3 separate regions of the Homo sapiens genome follow, and regions 2 and 3 are each linked to region 1. The links are contacts of gene promoters, found by promoter capture Hi-C in human tissues and cell types (Jung and others, 2019). All regions are on one chromosome and are shown on one strand. The core of a region is centred on a gene start or on the middle of the fragment in contact, and the rest is flanking DNA. Distances in the headings are between cores, read along the strand shown.

Region 1 (3,376 bases), core at 418-2,917:
CAGGAATGGAGACTGTGCTGAGAGTGGGGCCTCCCCTTCCCTCTCACGACGTGTCTGCCCCCGCACCGGCCAGGCGCTCAGCAGGCAGGAGTCACTATTCATTCACTTGATCCACCCCCACAGAGCAGAACCAGAATTACTTCTCAGCATGGTGCACAGATGGCCCCGCCAGGACAGGGTCCCGCCCCCACCCCCAAACTTCCCCGCCCTAGGCCTTGGGCCTAAGGGGTCTGGGAGGGAGAGGGAGTTTGGAATGGAGACTCCTCCAGTTCCTGCTCCTAGCCAAGCTTCCCAGTCCGTGTGGCTGCTTCTCCCTCCCTCTCATCAGAACCTAACCCCAGGCACAGTTATTGTGCAATTGGACCCAGGCCCAGCACCCAACAGTCTACAGAGCCCTTAGCAGCCGCACAGTATCTGCAAATGTTTCCTGAGCCCTCAGCCCCAGCCAGCTCTAACAGACTGAAGCTTGGGGGCCAGGCACTTTGGGTGGCTCGAGCCTGTAATCCTAGCAGTTTAGGAGGCCCGAGGGAGGAGGGTCGCTTGAGCCCAGGAGCTCGAGGCCAGCCTGGGCAACATGACGAGTCCACATCTCTGATAAATTTTTAGAAAGAAAAGAAAATGAAAAGGAAGCTTGGGAATCTGGAGGCTGAGCCAAGGCCTCACCAGCTCTCCCCATCACTGGGTTTGTGCTTGCTGGGAGCGGGAGGATCAAAGCCCAAGTCCCCTAGGTCTTGATCTACCCCTGGGGAGAGAACAGGTCTGTTCCTGCCCTGAGACCTGCAGCCTGACTCGGCTGCTCGGGAGTGGACTCTCCACTTCTCAGAGAAGAATACTGAGGCCAGGCCAGCCCTCCTCAGGAACAGCCCTGGCCGCCTGGGAGAGGAGTTTCCTCTCTTTCACAATGACCCTGCCTCCCTGGAGGGCGCAGCCGCCCAGGGGCCAAAGGCAACAGCAGCCCGAATAGAAAATATTCCTGGCACTGCCCCTCCCACAGAGCCCAGCCCAGGCCAGCAGGAAACCCCGCCGCGAGGCCGCCAGCCCCACCGGGGAGGGCCAGGTGGCTGCCGCCCCCTGCAGGGAAGGGAGCCAGGGCCACCATGCCCATCTGTCCAGGGTAAACTGAGGCTGCGGGGAAAGCGATACGTCCAAGCCCCAGAGGGGCTGGACTCCTGGTTTTACGCAGAGAAATAGAGGTGGAGACAGACGGCGAGTCCGAGAGAGGGAGAGAGAATCGGGAGCCCCCCCACACGCTCCGGACTCCCCAGGTCTCCATGTGGGGGCTTCACGACACAGAGGAAGCCGGATCCGACAAGGAGTCCAGAAAGGACCCGGCTGCGCAGGGAACAAATAACCCGAGCCGCTCTTCGGACCCGGGGACTCGCGCCCCCGGGGACTCGCGCCCCCGCCGCGTCCCCCACGCTCCAGAAACCTGGAATCCGGTGCCAGGCGTTTGAGCATCGGGAGCCCCTTCCCTCCTGCCTCGGTCCCAGTCCCCGGCGAGTGGCGATCGGGGTCCGCCCTCTGCCTCCGCGGGCCCCGGGGCGGGCGTCTTCTACGCCTCCTCCTCTGGGCCCGGGAAGCGGGTGCTCTCGGCTAGGGAGTGGGCAGCGAGAGGGGCCGAGGGCTCCTTACCGGGCTCGGGCAGCGGTGGCAGGCGGCAGAGCAGGACTGGCAGGGGTGCCCATCCCAGGTTATAAGCACAGGGCCCGGGGGCAGGGCCGGTGACCGGGGACACGTGGCGGGGACGCGCGCCACAGACCCCGCCCCCGGGCCCGGCCCCCGCCTGGAGCCGCTCAGCGTTCACAGCCACCTGCAGATGGGCGGGGCCCGCCTCCCCAGGCCTCGTCCCCACCTCCCCCCGCCTCCCACCAGGTCCGGGCCTGGGCCCGGCGCCGGCTCACCCTCCCAGGGGCGCGCCGGCGGGGGCGCAGGCGGCTCGCGGTTCCTGGCCCTGGCCCGCGGGCTGGAGGCGCCAAGGAGGGCGGCAGTGGCTGCGACCCATGTAACTCAGGGGCGGAGGGTGGCCGCAGCCGTCCTTCGAGAGACTTGCCTCCTGGCCCTGGGGAAGCAATTTAAACGCTTCGCGGTGGGAGCCGGGATAAAAGTTCCACTGGCGCAGGGAGCTTCGTGCTCACTTCTATCCGGTGCCGGCAGCCTGGGCCTTCTGCAGCCCCCAGAGCCCCCTCCCTCCCCAACCATAGCCTCTGGTAGCCGAGTAAGGATGAGAAAACCGAGGTGAGCCGGCGCGGGAAGGCCCGGCTTTCATCCCTTAGGCCAGGGCTGATTGCTGGCCTGTCTTCTCAGAGCCTGGCACCTGCCCAGACTCCAGAGGGCACCCAGTAAGCAGTGAGTAAAAGACTGTCTGGCTGCGAACCCACTAGACAGGAGGGAAGGTTGAGGTTCAGAGAGAAGTCTCTTGCTTGTAAAAAGCAGCTGGGAGTTGTGACCCCAGGCCCGCCTTCAACAGCTTCTCTACCTCAGGAGTTTCCCAGCTTGGTCTGCCGGCTCCAAAGCCCTGATCACTGCAACCACAGCCCCAGTAAAAGAGCAAGTCCTGGGACCCCATCCAAGGCAGTTGCTCCATAGTGAGCACTGACCCCAGAAGGGAGGACTCCCGGTCCTCAGCCGGCTCTGAACCTGGGGGAGGTGGGAGCCCCAAGCCTTGCCCAGCCGCTACCCTGGAGTCAGTGCTCCTTTTAATCACCATCCACTCTCAGCCCCTCTGCCAGTCAGCCCCCACCACCCCCTCAAGCCCATGGCAAGCAACAGTAGCTGTGAGTCCTTCTAGAAGGAAAAAAGGATCAAACCAATTCACAAACAAAGCCACAGCTCGATTCTCTCTTAAGCCCCTTAGTTCTCTGACACTTAAACCTGGGATGTGGCCCTTGATGGCAAAGGGGCCCCTGGTGAGCCACGTGGGGCTGGGTGTACATGGGTGGCTTGAGGCCCCTTCTAGATGGGAGGCGGTATCACAGCTGGCCCCCCTCAGCCCTCTCACAGGAGCAGCTGGGGGTCTCGTGGAGTCTCTGGGCCTCCCACACTAGCAGGAGGCAAGTGAGGAACACCTACACAATGACACCCTTGCAGCAGTTGTGTGTCCTTGGGGCGGTCACTCCCCACTGCAGCCTGTTTTCTCATTGGTAGGGTCGCCCTGGAAAGAGCAAGCATTCTGTTTTCACCTTCACGACTACCCTGTATGAAGTACCTGTGATTGTTATCTCAATGGTATGGGCAGAAACCTGCTGCACAGAATGACGGTGTATCTTTCCCAAGGCCACACAGCATGTGAGTGGCAGAGCGGAGCTAGAATCCAGTGTCTGAAGCTCTGGCTCAAACCCTCTGCTTTAGCTCCAGCCTGAGCTGAACTGAGGTCACA
Region 2 (3,376 bases), core at 282-2,781, 190 kb before region 1:
CCTGGAAAGGGCCAGGACCCCCTTGGTAGATGCTACAGAAACACCTTCAAGACAAAGGACAGCCAAGATGACCATTGTTTCAAGGGCAGTGAGGGTTGTCTTTGCTTCCCCTTCCACCCTACCCAAGACACAGACCCAGGGCCTGCAGCCCCCTGCGGAATTGAGTGTCAAGCCACTTTCTGGCCATTAATCTCTAAGCATCTATCAGGCCCATTTGCTTCAGCCCATCTTAAAAAACCCCAGCTGGGCCCTAGTGGACCAGAAGTGGGGCTGGGAGAGAGTGGGGCTGTAGCCAGCTAGAAGCTGCGGCTCTGGGGTGACCCACGTTCTCATGGACCAGGCACTGCACTGTGCCATCTGTGCCCCAGCCGACCCTACCTTGGGGGCTCTGGGACATCATGGGTGGTCACCACTGTCGAGTGACCCTGGAAAGATGGTGCCTCCTATCTGATGGGAGGCCAGGGGTACTGATTGAGGCCCGCTGGCTGAGAACTCCTCAACCCCAGCCCAAACTTCTGGGTGGGGCTGGGATCGGCTCAGCAGGGTCCTTGATGGATCCTGAACTTGGGAGGCTGGCAGAGACCCAGTAGGCATGGGCGGTGGCGGGTGGGGGTGGGGCATGCATTCAGAAGACAGACTGGGCAAGCGCCCGCCCCGCCTCCCGGACCCCGACCGCCCTTACAGTGATGACCATGCATCTTTCTTAATGGAACACAACCGCTGAACTTGGTACATTTCAAGCACTTTAGCCTCCAGTACACCAGACTGCTGATGAAAATCATCTTCCTTGGGCGCCATGTTAATGAGAGGCCAAATTTCATATGCTTGCAAACTTTCCCCCCCCGCCTCCTGTCGTACCACACCCCCTCCCCCCAATAAAAGATTGCATCAGAGAGAAAGAGAGATTTCCATAATTTATAGTATGGGCATTTCACTGGGGACAAGCGCTAATCTGTACTTACCGATACATTTAAGAAAATGCATCCTCCGCAAGCCTGCGCCATTTATGACTCTTGGCACAAACCACAATGCTCAGTCTTCAATTAAGGGACACCTTAGGGTTCATTATCACACAATCGCTCCCTGTGAACCATGCCAAATGCTGTTTTGGCACAGAGCTTGGAAGATGAATTAGAAGGAAGTCTTCTCTGTAATGCCCTCTCCCGAATTCCCATTACCGTCATCAGCGTTTACGCCCTCCTCCCACTCGGCCCCCTCCCCCCACTTTCCAAGTGCCTTTTACTATTCAATTTCTCAACGTCAAACTCGATTCTCTAGAGGTGCAGTTAAAAATGCCACATCTCCTTTTTGTCTTCCGGCTCTCAACAGGCCTGCCATGGCCGCAGATGGGCTGCTCTCCACACCCCTTTTCGGCCTGAAGGAGCCACAGCTGCTTTTTTCCCCTCCTGTCAGAAGCTTGGAGTACAGACAAGGGGCCGGTATTGGCCAGGCACAGCCCAGCAAGCCCCGTTCAGGATGGAAACAGGTCTCTATATCTAAGTAGAGACCCGCACAGAAAGCCTGAGGGCGAAGGCAGGGCCCCTCAGACGTGAAAGCAGACACTGCTCAATGCCAGTCACCCCAACCAACGGGACAGAAGGAAAAAAAAAGGCGAGGGCTGATGCTATTACTTAATGCCCTTCCAAGTCTGAGGCCCACACTGTCGCCACGAGTCCTAAGACCACAGGACTGTAACTTAACACCTCTGGGGAAGGACGCCCCATTTGTTTCTTCATGAAAGGACAGGACATAACGAGCACGTGTGCTGATGCTTCCCAGCCCTCCTGGCGATCTGGTGTCCCACCGTGGGCACGGGGCTAAGAGCGAGAAAGCACCACCACCACAGCCACAGGTGAGGCTGGGGACAAGGAGGTGGGGGATGCAGGCAGCAACAGTCAGGGAAGCACACCGCGCCTAGGGCAGCCCACCTACATTTGCAGGCGAATGTGTGTGCATGGGCACGCAGGGAAGGGGAGCGGGCGGAGGGCAAGGGGCTGCCCAGTCAGTCGCAGAAGTCTGCTGACCCGCCGCACGCCCTTCAATGCATCTCCCAGCTCCATCCGATGACACTCCCATACTGACTTCTCACTTACAGATGCCTGACTGTGACAGGGAAGGGGAGCTGAGCCCAACCACGGCTCTCAAGTCAAGCTGTCAAATCATACAGAGCCATTAACATAAAATTAGCTTAACGAACTAGCTAGACATCTAGACTGTGCACCAACGAAGGCGGGTGGACGCGGTGCAAGATGACGGGCGAGGCCCGCAGGAATCCTCTTTCCCTCTCGGGCGGCCGCGGGCAGGGGCAGAGGGATGAACCGGCGAATGGAAAGCAAACAGGCCAGAAAGACTTTGCCCACAAGATGCCTTGTGGAGATTTTATTATATAGAGTGTAAAATGAATTGTCAGTCAAATAAAAAGAACACTTTGTTTTCTTAAAAACCCCATGCATAACATTTTCCAATTGTCTTTTTTAATAGTTAGACATTTCAAGCATTATAAGAAAAATAAGGAGAAAAAACCAGAAACTGTAACTTCAGTACATTTCAAACGGAATGTCCCTCAGGTCAATTAGAAATGCAAGAAAAAATAGCTTCAATTCCGTTTTTTTTCCTTTAAAAATACATGTTATCTGTACAAGATACACTACAGTAAACACTGGAAATCATATTATCCCTTTCATTAAATCAAAATTATTTAATTCATAATGCGGTTAATACTAGATTTATTTATTCATCTAGTTAATCTGACAAAATATTAAGAAAATATTTAAAAGAAAAAAGCAAACAACACCTTGGAATTAAAAATAGTTATAACTACATTTTTATACGGTTTAATGTTCCACAGTGTGTGTTAAAAGTTATATTGAATTTCTTAATATTAAAAATAACAGTATTTATATTTCTGAGATAATAGAGAAAGGTTTTTTGTTTTGTTTTAAAAACAAGCTTGGAGGTCTTAGATACACAATTGCAACTGGTAATGGAGGCATGAGAAAAACGTAGGCTAAACACACGAGCACATTTTTATATTACCCCTTTCGAACTCTAGAAATTATACAAACCCTACAAAATGCCCCTCCCAACCCCTGTTGGACAGCAATACAATTATCTGTCTCAGTTCAGAATTCACATCATTCATTACAATACATAATAGTTCAGTTTTTTTAAAAATGCAATAAAACCAGACAGCCAAGATACAAGAAATTAGAAGTAAAACATTAAATGAATTTACACATTTAAGAATACTTAAATACTGCTTTAAAATTTTTAAAAAGAATTTGTTACATACCACCTAAGACTTCCAAGCCACTTTCTGTTGCAACAGAAAAAACTGCAAATAAAAAGGACACAAAACCAAACCAAACCAAAACCA
Region 3 (3,376 bases), core at 571-3,070, 140 kb before region 1:
CAAGACCTTGTCTCAAGAAAACCCAAAACCAACAAACAAAATCTTTATAATAAAACTCCAAATGCAGAACATTTTCAATTGGGATGATTCTAAGATAAAGTTATCAGAATAAAGACTACACAGAAAAGGAGAGAGAAGGGAGTATGAATAGACAGCAGACATAACATAAGAAAGCACAAGAACCAAAATAACATGGTGAGCTTTTTCCAGATCCAGTTAGATGGATGCTCTGAATGTCTAAGGGTTTGAAGGGACTGCTGAAATTATCTAGCTCCACATTTCCTGACGTTTGATGCACAGAATGTGATTTGGTTCCATGGAAAGAGGGCACGAAGTGATCTAACTTCAGGACATTTACGAAACACACCCTAAACCCTGTAGGAGTTAATGCACATAAGCATGTTAAAGGTTCTGAGAAGTCCTACAGTAAAGAAGCCAATTCACCTTTATTTAATCCTGCATTCCCCAAACTTAACTGCCCATGATCTCTTTTCCACGGAAGATCTTTAAACAGCCTATAGATCAAATGCTAGGAAAGCCCAACCCAGCCCAAGGTCATGCATCGGCTTACAGGCAACTCAGACCTCCTAACTCTCAATCCAGAGCTTTCCATTAGAAATTTCAAATAAAAACCAGAGGCGACTGACTCACAATTTACAAAAAGATAAGTAAAAAACTGTCAATTAGGCATCCCAAAGAACAGTATAAAACAATAGCAAGATGGCGGGAATGAAGACAACCCGGAGAGTGTGAATGCCTCATGTCAAAAACGCAGCAGCTACTCAGCTCCTGCTGATTATCGCTGTGCAGGCTGTGGGAGCAGTGTGGCCAGATCTTTTCTAGGGAAACCAGAAATCTTTTTTTTTCTTTTGAGACAGAGTCTCACTTTGTCGCCCAGGCTGGAGTGCAATGATGCAATCTCCACTCACTGCAACCTCTGTCTCCCAGGTTCAAGCAATTATCGTGGTTCAGCCTCTCGAGTAGCTGGGATTACAGGTGCGTGCCACCACACCTGACTCATTTTTGTATTTTAAGTGGAGGCAGGGTTTCACCATGTTGGCCAGGTTGGTCTCATCCTGACCTCAAGTGATCTCCCTGCCTCGGCCTCCCAAAGTGCTGGGATTACAGGCATGAGCCACAGTGCCTGACCGAAACTTTTTTTGGGATGGAGGCTTGCTCTGTTGCCCAGGCTGGAGTGCAGTGGCACCATCCCGGCTCACTGCAACCTCCACCTCCTGGGTTTAAGCAATTCTCCTGCCTCAGCCTCCAGAGTAGCTGGGATTACAGACATGTGCCACCACGCCCAGCTAATTTTTGTATTTTTAGTAGAGACGGGGTTTTGCCATGTTGGCCAGGCTGGTCTCAAACTCCTGACCTCAAGTGATCCACCTGCCTCAGCCTCCCAAAGTGCTGGGATTACAGGCATTAGCCACCATGCCCAGCCCGAAATCTTGCTCTCTCTTTTTTTTAATGCAAAATCACTCTAGTTTCTTTTGTTTTTTGAGACAAAGTTTTGCTCTTTTCACTCAGGCTTGAATGCAATGGCACGATCTCGGCTCACTGCAACCTCTGCCTCCCAGGTTCAAGCTATTCTCCCACCTCAGCTTCCTGAGTAGCTGGGATTACAGGCACCTGCCACCACACCCAGCTAATTTTTGTATTTTTAGCAGAGATGGGGTTTTGCCACGTTGACCAGGCTGGTCTCGAACTCCTGAGTTCAAGTGATCCGCCCACCTCGGCCTCCCAAAGTGCTGGGATTACGGGTGTAAGCCACCGTGCCCAGCCAAAAATCACTCTAGTTTTTAAGTGTTGGTGCTGGGTGGGTCAAACAAAGCATGCCTGCAGGCCCATAGTAAGTCTTCTATAGCTCACAGGCCACAAGTTTGAGAACTGTGGTCTAAGTAAATTTCTATTTATGAAATAACTGGTACTTCAGAAGAAACCAAAGTTTGGTAATACACATGGGCTATCAGATTTTAAAATAAAGACAGCCAGGCATGGGGGCACGGTGCCTCACACCCATCCCAGCACTTTGAAAGACTGAGGTGGGAGGATTGCTTGAGGCCAGGAGTTCGAGACCAGCCTGGGCAACATAGTGAGACCCTGTCTCTACCCCAAAATAATTATATTATATGATAAATTATCACATTATAAATGTTCTCATCTGCAAATGAGAAAAGCCTTAGAGACATACAGTGGAATATATAGTTTATTTACTATCTACTTTCCAATACCCAGTATGAAGTTCAGCACTTCCATTAACATGTGGTGGCGCACACACACTCAGTGACATCACCAAAACCCTTTAAGGAAGACTCACTCCGCCAGGTACTCTACTGGGTCCCAACAATGTAAAGCTACAGGAGCAGCCCGTGGATTTCCTGCAGACACTAGTTTCCTTCAAGTGTTTATGAAAGCTAAAATGAGTGTACAGGCAGGAGTTAGTCCCTTGTGAAATGATGACTTGAGCTATTCAATCACTGGACATGTACAAGACAGTCTCAGTGGAGTACCACTTAGATCTCTTGAGTGTTCAGCACACTTGACTGAGCCGGGAGTCAAAACCATGTGTTAAATGAGCCTCGCAGGGCGAACCCACTGGCCAATGAATGGAGGCTTTTTCTTTTAATGGTAGATGTACAGTGTTCTCTTAAAAGGAAACCTAGTGCTTGTTCTAAGAAGTCAGAATCTTAAAGCATTAAAGTTCTAAATCAGCCCAGGGTATACAACACACATCCCAAATTACCTACTGCTCAGGCTTAAACTGTGAAACAGCAGCACTGGGAGAGATTTTCAGGAGGACTGTGGAACTTCTGAGGCCCCACACCAATCAACATTTCCCCAAAATAGGTGCCAGTGAAGAAGAGGTTCGGGCCTAAAAATCTGTCAAAAGGTTACTTTCTACTGATTCTACAATGGCTTGGTCACACTCATTTAAGTGTAGTGCTACCGTGATGCCGAACGAACTCTATGAAGCACCATTTAGACTGCATTCTGTATCAACATTATATGCTGTAGTTATACAATCCAGAGGCATTGAGTGGGTCTATCTAGATCAAAACAGATCTAATGCTTTTTAAAGTCCTAAAAAGTATTAGTAGTTTCTCGGAGAACAATTTCTATTTAGGCGACGACTGGCAGACAGCTAGCTGGTCCAGCTTGTGGAAGGCTGCTGTCAACCTATAATGCACTGTGGCATCACACTCTCCTAACAAGGGATTGCTCACGGGTGATGACAGGTGCTACTAAGTTATCAATGGTAGACCTTCTAGGAACATTTAAAAATATTTTTAGGAGAATGGAACAACATAAACCAGACTTGGATCTACTCATCCAGAGGTCCCCTTGTAACCTAGGCAGACAGTCAGTATAGAAG

Evidence for each region. Contacts are between HindIII fragments. The study calls those that stand out against the background at their distance.
Region 2: a fragment that was not itself captured here is called in contact with the fragment with the promoter of ASS1 in region 1 in 1 of the 25 tissues and cell types used here (spleen).
Region 3: a contact is called between a fragment that was not itself captured here and the fragment with the promoter of ASS1 in region 1, in 1 of the 25 tissues and cell types used here (mesenchymal stem cells).

What each region holds. Positions count from the first base shown.
Region 1 is chr9:130,443,252-130,446,627 of GRCh38, reverse strand. ASS1 (argininosuccinate synthase 1) reads right to left here and starts at 1,667. Exons shown (of 15, transcript NM_054012.4): 1 at 1,633-1,667. RefSeq lists an enhancer at 197-864 and a silencer at 1,745-1,864. The HindIII fragment of the contact is 13,908 bases long and covers 1-3,376 here.
Region 2 is chr9:130,637,325-130,640,700 of GRCh38, reverse strand. It overlaps FUBP3 (far upstream element binding protein 3), which reads right to left. Exons shown (of 19, transcript NM_003934.2): 19 at 2,349-3,376. Among named protein-coding and RNA genes, the nearest start is that of MIR6856, 13 kb to the right of the region's middle. RefSeq lists an enhancer at 1,854-2,449. The HindIII fragment of the contact is 6,178 bases long and covers 1-3,376 here.
Region 3 is chr9:130,582,655-130,586,030 of GRCh38, reverse strand. All of the region lies in intron 1 of FUBP3 (far upstream element binding protein 3), which reads right to left. Among named protein-coding and RNA genes, the nearest start is that of FUBP3, 4.8 kb to the right of the region's middle. The HindIII fragment of the contact is 6,365 bases long and covers 1-3,376 here.